3 separate regions of the Homo sapiens genome follow, and all the other regions are linked to region 3. The links are contacts of gene promoters, found by promoter capture Hi-C in blood cells and fetal thymus (Javierre and others, 2016). All regions are on one chromosome and are shown on one strand. Each heading gives the region's core, a stretch centred on a gene start or on the middle of the fragment in contact. The rest is flanking DNA. Distances are from core to core; before and after follow the strand shown. Region 1 has its middle 430 kb from the start of STEAP1. Region 2 has its middle 23 kb from the start of SRI. Region 3 holds the start of ZNF804B (zinc finger protein 804B).

Evidence for each region. Contacts are between HindIII fragments. The CHiCAGO score rates a contact against its expected background, and 5 or more counts as called.
Region 1: a fragment that was not itself captured here is called in contact with the fragment with the promoter of ZNF804B in region 3 in 1 of 17 cell types (naive CD4 T cells); the score reaches 5.1 in naive CD4 T cells.
Region 2: a fragment that was not itself captured here is called in contact with the fragment with the promoter of ZNF804B in region 3 in 1 of 17 cell types (megakaryocytes); the score reaches 5.3 in megakaryocytes.

The regions. Positions count from the first base shown.
Region 1 is chr7:89,724,246-89,726,945 of GRCh38, reverse strand. No RefSeq gene overlaps it. Among named protein-coding and RNA genes, the nearest start is that of STEAP1, 430 kb to the left of the region's middle. The HindIII fragment of the contact is 826 bases long and covers 922-1,747 here.
Region 2 is chr7:88,241,351-88,244,050 of GRCh38, reverse strand. No RefSeq gene overlaps it. Among named protein-coding and RNA genes, the nearest start is that of SRI, 23 kb to the right of the region's middle. The HindIII fragment of the contact is 1,562 bases long and covers 642-2,203 here.
Region 3 is chr7:88,758,382-88,761,081 of GRCh38, reverse strand. It overlaps ZNF804B (zinc finger protein 804B), which reads right to left and starts at 1,382. Exons shown (of 4, transcript NM_181646.5): 1 at 998-1,382. The coding sequence starts at 1,105. RefSeq lists an enhancer at 692-1,236. The HindIII fragment of the contact is 11,667 bases long and covers 1-2,700 here.

The sequences.
Region 1 (2,700 bases), core at 85-2,584, 970 kb before region 3:
CCTCTATCTTTTTGTTCCATTCAGATCTGCAGTGGACTGGATAGTGCCTGCCCACATTGGGGAGGACAATTCTCTTTATTTAGTCTGCCAATTCAATGCTAATCTCCCAGAAACATCCTCACAGACACACCCAGAATTAATGTTTAACCAGATATCTGGGCATCCCATGATTCAAACAGTACACATAAAATTTGCTAGCACAGCATTTATGTCATATTGTGTGTGTGATATATGTATATATATGTGTGTATATATGTATACATATGTACACACACATTCTATATATATACACACACATCCTCTATATATACACATATATACATACATTCTCTCTCTCTATATATACACACACACATTCTCTCTCTATATATATATACATATATACACACACATCCTCTCTCTATATATACACATATATACACACATTCTCTCTCTCTATATATACACATATATACACACACATTCTCTCTCTATGTATATATGCATATATACACACACATCCTCTATATATACACATATATACACACACATTCTCTCTCTATATATACACATATATACACATTCTCTCTCTCTATGTATATATATATATATATATATATATATATAAAACCTTCAACTTGTTTTTTAGAAGGCTTGACCATATGTCCCTAGCACTGTGTGTGTGTCTACTTTGTCATAGTTTCATTTATTTTGTGTTTTATAATTTTAGAAAATGTCTGTTAAATGTGTAGGCAAAAATGATATACCTGAGTTTATATATGTTACTTCCTTTTGCTTTTAGCAAGTTTGTACTTTTACTTTTGGTATTATTGGTAAGTAGTGTTTTCTCTTTCGTGTTTTTGTGTTTCTCTATTTTGTTCTAACATTTTCTTCTTAACCAATATAACTCTAGAGTACTTTAACTCTGTCAGCTGAGAAGCTTAATTGTATTCAATTTAACCATTATTTAGAAAGGTGACATGCTATGAGTTTAGCTGGTCCAACAAGGAACAAGGTATCATCCTTTAACGCCCATGACATGACACAGTGAAGGAGGTAACAATTATGGTTCCCCCTACTGAGCACCTTTATGTAGGTTTTGTCAGATGCTGTGGTCAGTGTTTCATGTCATGTAATTCTCACAACAAATCTGGGAAATTGGTAGTTTATCCCCATTTCAAGATGTGAAACTGAAGCTCAATGAAATAGAGTAACATTGTATTTCTTAGGTAACACCTATGAAACATTGTATTTCAAGGTAACACCATTACTAAGTGTTAGGTCTGTGATTTAAACTCAAATATGTTTCCTCCCACAGTCTGCACACTCTCTCCTATGCCAGAATATCACCTTTGAGATAAATGTGTAGATGACAAACAAGACAGAGTAACACAAATGTCACTAAGAAAGATGTTAGAAATGAAATGACCTGGAAAATTGACTGATGACATTAAAATGTACATTTTTCAATTTACTTGAATTAAGTTGCATGTTTAATGTAAAACAGCAAATGTATTAACCACTTCCTTTGTTTAATATGTGAGTGCTAAATTTGTAATTATGTGGCTTAAATTTCTGGCTAAAATAGACTATTTTAATCTTATCTAAAATATTGAAGTATGACTTAAAGGTCTACAAAAATATTCTCTCATTCTATTGTTTGGAAAAATTTAGACTGTATAATATTTACTTTCATTGATGTTTACATGATATTTTAATAGATGATATGAAAACTCTTGTTTCTAAGACATATTGACAATCAAAAGCTTAGCTTCAGAATTCCCAGTGGGATTTACTGAATTGCTCACATTATGTTTCTGGGTATAAATCAATTTAGAGAATGTATCACTTCCTATGCTTATACTGGCAGCATGGAATTGTTTGAATATCTCTGGCCTGGGTATTATTAACACTATAACAAACAAATTAATAATTAAAGAATCACATGGTATAATCTCTGTATTTTAAGACATGGAATCACATACTTGAACAGAAGGTATTATCTAGGGAAAAGAAAAAGTGAGGAAAAGAAAACATTTAAAAACGATCTCATGCCACCAAAGGAAAAAATATCTCCAGTATTATAGACTATTTTTGTTAGTTGCTCTAGATATATTTGTGTTGATAAAGAAACATAATAGCATTTGTGTTTTATTTACTGTGGGAGAGACAGAAGGGAGACTAACAGGATAGCTGTACTGAAAATCTCCCCATATATTTAGTCCCCTCACTATACTCCTATGTGTATATGTAGGAGTGGGAAGTACCTCTGGGCAGAAACTCACAGAATTAAAAAGATAATGACTGCCTTCCTCATATACTTTAGGTATCTCTCTTTTTACAGGCTGAATAAATAAATTTTTATCATGATCCACAAAGATAAGAAAAACAAATTCTGTAAGTCATCTGTTGGCTACAACTTAGAGAAGAGCATTTCTTTGTACTGATCTTGTATTTTGTTGTGTTTCTGAAAAGTGATGCAGTAGTACTTGTATTCTGATAAACTTTTAACTACCCTTTTTTAATCTCTCCCTTTTCTTTTGGTGCCCGAATTCCATCATTTCTCTTTTAAAATTAATTTTTAATTGACAAATAAAATTGTATTTATTATGTACAACACATTTCTTGATTTTAATTTGCTTATGAAGTTGACTTTATTCCTATCAAATGTCAGAGAAGCTATATGAAGGATAGTTTATTGTTACAAAAATATGTCAATAT
Region 2 (2,700 bases), core at 173-2,672, 520 kb after region 3:
CATCCCATTTTTGTTTCCTGTTTCTGCTTTGAAAGTTTATTTTGGTCTTTATAGTAGGTACCCTAGAAATTGTAATATGCATATTTAACTTTTTTGAATTTTAAAGAGAATCAACATTTTTACTCTCCTTCTAAATAATACAAGGATTCCAACCACCATCCCCTTCTACTTACATGGGGTATTGTTGCTTGACATATTTCTGCTGCCTATTTACTTACTATCTCTCAGCTCCAATCCTACTCTGTTCTACTCTGCTCTGTGCTGGGACTCTGCGGAATATCTTTCCCAGACTCCCTTGCCCACTAACTGCCTATTGTGTTTTGTTACTAGGGTTACATAATGGGAGTGAAAGGTGAGAAAAGAGGAAAACAACATTGCTTCCAATTGTTCCAGTTCTGGTCAGTGTTGCCCATCAGTAGCTTCATTGGTCCAGCCTTCAGCTTTTTTCAAAACTCCTCTAGCCTTAGCAATTTCCCTCAGAGCAACTAGCATCCTCCAGTGGCACCCACTGTGAAATGTCCTTGTTGAAGCTTACTGTAAATGCGAAAACAAATGAGTGAAAAATGCAAGAAAGGTTTCAAACCAAATACAATGTTATAATGACACCTTGTGGATATGGGCAGTATACCACTGACCAAGCTTCAGTGAAATGCAACATTAGCTGTAAAATCACCAAACATAAAATACTACACATTTTGAAACTAAAAACTAAAAATAAAAAAAAGCTACTTAATGTAGAAAAAAATGAATAACAAATAAACATAGAGTAATAGAAACTACAAGTTGGTGATCTCTTTTCCATATTCCTGTGAGACACAGCACTAGATCACTCCTTAAAGACTCGTTTTCTTCCATTCAATTTACTGCCATTTTAATTTTCCCGAGTTTAAGGCCTCCTTTTTCTTTTCTTATAAATCAGTGTTTTTCATCCTTTTCTGAGAATTAAATTTTTTAATGTTCATTATATATATTTTTTTCTAGTAGTGTCTTGCAGAAGTCTACATTAAAAATTTCAATTTGTCAAAAAAAAAAAAAAAAAAACCCTGAGGTTTTAGCAACCTATCTTTGTAAATTAACTGTTTTTGTGTGAGGTAATGAAATTAGCCCTGATATAATCACAGTGTATTCATGACTTTTTCTAATTTTTCTAAATTTTGCCTTTTGCTAATAACTTGTTTTTTAATAACAACCTATTACTTTTTATGATGTTTGTGTCAGTTACCACTTAAGCAGAATCTAATCGCTTTCGTATTCTATAATTAAATTAATGTGGACATTTAGTACACTATATAATATTATTAGAAAACAAGAGATTTGGTTTGAGAAGACCTAAATTCAAATCTAACTTGGCTATTTATTAGTGAAACCAGGGGCAAGTTACTTTGACTTAAATTAACCTGATTATAATCATCTGTAAAACAAAGATTATAAACATGAATAACAAATTTTAAAATATCCAGCAGTAAAATGTATATAAAACATTTATATACTGTAAAGCATTACACAGATACAAGTAGTTAAAATAGCATGTATGCATTACATTCAATATTTTATTCATAAGAGTCTACTTTAGAATTTTATGTGAAATTTAAAGTAGCTCATTCCATGCATCTGGCAAACAAAATCATCCCATAATTTCTGAGGATCTGTTTTTTACAAGATACTGTAAGAGACATAGAGGCAAATGTTACCAGTGACTGCCCGAAAGTTTTATAATTTTATTGAGGATTCATGTATACTTGATAAGTTGTTGCAAAAAGAGATTTAATTCATCAAGACGTGATAAGAGCTGTAGTCTTGGGTGACATCACAGAAGAAGTATTCAGCTGGGTATGGAATAGAACACAGATGAGGAAGGACATTTAATGATGAAAATACAGCATGAACAAAGGAATTATTTGGTTTTTCCTTTTCTTAGCACTGTTATAGTATTTCCTGTTAATACAACTCACTTTGTCTCCTAACTATAACTTGTATTGATAGTATTATTATATGTGTATTACATGTGTAGATGTCATGTTTCTCTGTATAAACTATATGTTTACAAAGTATACAGATGTCTAATATAAGTCACTTATTTTACCAGGTGCTGGAGATTTACCATATATGGGTGATTAACCCATTAACAGTGTATGAAAAAGCTGCACCAGAGCATGTACAAAGTACTTCAGGGTCGCAGAGAAGAGGTGATTAATTCTAAGCTTCAGAACAGCGCAAACTAATTTTTGCATTTTGTTCATATCACCCCAGAGCACCAAGCTTTACATTAGCTTTATAATAGGTACTCAAAACGTTAATAAACAGATGAACTAATGAACAAACAAAAAATGCAGACAAGAACAGGCTGACAATCCCATGGGAATTACCCAGACTTGTTGGAAGGAAAAAAGTGGGAAAGTAAATTGGTGCCCAATTTTTGGAGATATGGAATCTTGGATGAAAAAGATTAGACTTGGGCCAGGCACAGTGGCTCATGCCTGTAATCCCAGCATTTGGGAGGGCAGATCACTTGAGGCTAGGAGTTCAAGGCCAGCCTGGACAACATGGCGAAATCCCGTCCCTACTAAAAATACAAAAAAAAAAAAAAAAAAAAATGAGCCAGACATGGTGGCGCGCGCCTGTAATCCCAGCTACCCAGGAAGCTGAAGCATGAGAATTGCTTGAAACCAGGAGGCAGAGGTTGCCGTGAGCCGAGATCAC
Region 3 (2,700 bases), core at 133-2,632:
AAACATAAAAAAATTAAAGTTGGGCAATTTCAGTTTTCCCTCTTGATATCATACAGACTTAAATACTGTTTTTTATATGAAACCTCAAAAGTTGGTCTTTAAGTTTGGATACTTAGTCACTAGTAGTCCAAAACTAATATATATATATATTTATTATATATATATTTATTATATATATATTTATTATATATATATATAAATTACACACACATACACATTCACACACATTTTCTTGAAACATATTTGGAGCCTTAAAACATAATAGCATGTACCAAGAAATGAATTAATAATGTATTTAACTCATATAATCTGGATGAAATTATTTTATAAAAAGAATGTGAATAAACTGAATAGTAACTAAATTGAATAGTTTACTAAGTTAAAAAGCAATCACGTTAATTGCATGTTAATATATTTGTATATTATACAATAAATTATCCAACTCAGATTTCCATAAAGAATTCTCTTACTTCCCCTTAAAGAATGTGCATAGTTGAGCATTAGATATAATCAAGTTTTCACTACCTATAACTTTCCTTTTGCCAATGATTTGAGGGAAAATCTTTGAGTTTTTCTCACAAAGTAACAGTAGCATTATTAAACTAATCTCAACTGATGACTTTACAAAAGCACATTATAACGTGCCACTCAAACTTTCTACACTGCTCAAATCAGCAGATTCGTAAGTTGACATAGCACAGAGGAGCTACCTTCTGAGCCCTGCAGTTGACTGCATTCAGTAAGTATTTACATCCGTAGCACTATAGATCCTACTGACTGAATTGAAAATACACATGTAAATACACACCCCTCTCTGTGTCACAGTCTGTCAATAAATTGTATAAACGGACACGATGTATCTCCATACCTATGGATAAGGTATACGTTTTAGATGTCCACCACCTACTCATTGTATCAGGATACTATCTCTCAATATCTTTTTGTTTGTGTTGAGTTGGAACGTTTGTGTATGTATGTGTGTGCGCGCGCACATTACCGGAGAGGGAGATCCGTTCTTGCACAGGGGTCCCCTGAAGACTCCTTTAATGCCCCGGTAGTGCCCATTGCTGAGATGTCTCGAACTGATGACCAGGTAACAAGCCATGTGGGTCCGGGCGGAGGCGCAGAGTCTCAACTCCTCACCAGGCGACCAGCCGTGGAAAGCGGGCGGGTTTCTCAGCGGCAACAGCGACTACCACCTCCCGAGAAGACGCGGCCAGCAGGACGCAGGGGGAGGCGGTGGCAGCGCGTCCCTGCTCCGCGCCCCGTGCGGGGCTCCTGCTGCCGACAGCTGCTGCTCTGACAGAGGCGGCGGCGGCGACAGCACAGAGCACGGAGGGGACCCGGCGAGCCAGTCCACATGCTGCTCTGACGAGGTGGCTGCTCAACCGCGGGCCAGCGATATATTTATTTAAGGACAACTTCCAGGGTCCACCAGGGAATCAGGAATTCCCCCGCCCCTTTCCTCCCGCCCCCTGCCTTCGCGCCTGGCGCCTGCCCGGGGGATGCTCAGGCGCGGGTACCCATCGTCCGGCCGGGGGCGTCCTGGGCTGCTGGCTGCAGTGTGAAGATCCAGCAGCAGCCGCCGCCACCGCCGCTGCTTTGTGGGGAGAGTGGCGGGGAGTCCTTGGGAGCGCCAAAGCGCTGCCCCCGCTGCAGTCGGGAGAGGGCGGAGGAGGAGACGGGCGGGCCGGGGTGAGGACAGGGAGTTGGGGACGCGGCGACCTGTGCTTGAGGAGGGCAGTTAGCGCCTCTGCTGGGAGCTGTGGGCTCGGGGCTGCCCAGGAGGCTCAGGTGTGCTGTGGGGCGAGGCCAGGAGGTGACAGCTGCCGCTGCAGCCGCGGGGGGCTCTCGGGGCTGCAGGACCCGCCTCTCCCACCTCCCGGCCTCAGCCGCCCAGCCCCCCGGTTCTTCTGCCCTATCTCTGAGCCAACTTTCTACTGTTTGGGAGTCACCTGGGAGGACTGGGGAGGCTGTGGTGGAGGAGATGGGCAGGAGGAGGGCGTTTTCTTTACTCTTTCGTTGCCTGCTGGCCTTCAGCTTTTCTTCAGCGCTCTGGCTGACGGCGGCGTTGGCAGAAGCAACAGCTCCCCAGCCGGTTGCAAGAATGAGCTGTGCAGCCACAAATAGGGCAGACAGATTAGATGCGCCGTGGTAGGGAACGCACGGACGAGGAAAGTTTTGGGCAGAAAACTTATATAAGGTATAGAAACGAGACATGCATACGTATATGTGCATATACATGCACGTACCCAGAGTTATGAAGATTCACTTACAAGCCTTTCTGTATCTTAGCGAGGCACATATTTTTGGTCTCTATAAGACCTCTGTGCTTTCAAAACCCCCAATAATCACCCCTCTCAGAAGTGGTTTTTAACGGACCTTATTTCGTTTACCGTAATTTAAGCCACCAGGGAGCGAGCTGCACTGAGAATAAAAAGACCTGGGCAGAAATGTGCTCTGAAAGGAGAAGATAGCCCTCCCAGGGTTTGGAGACACCCTGCACTCTCCTCCACCCCGCGGTTGCTTAATGCGGTTCTGCAATCCATCTCTGCCTCACCTCGCCTTGTCTGTGCCTGGGAGAAGGTAAAGGTTCACCTCCTCTCAGTCTGTTGCTTCAGCGCTGGAATTGAAAGGCTACCGCCAATGCGCTAATTCTCCCCAGTATTGTCCTCTCCTGTCTCCCACAATGCCCCATTC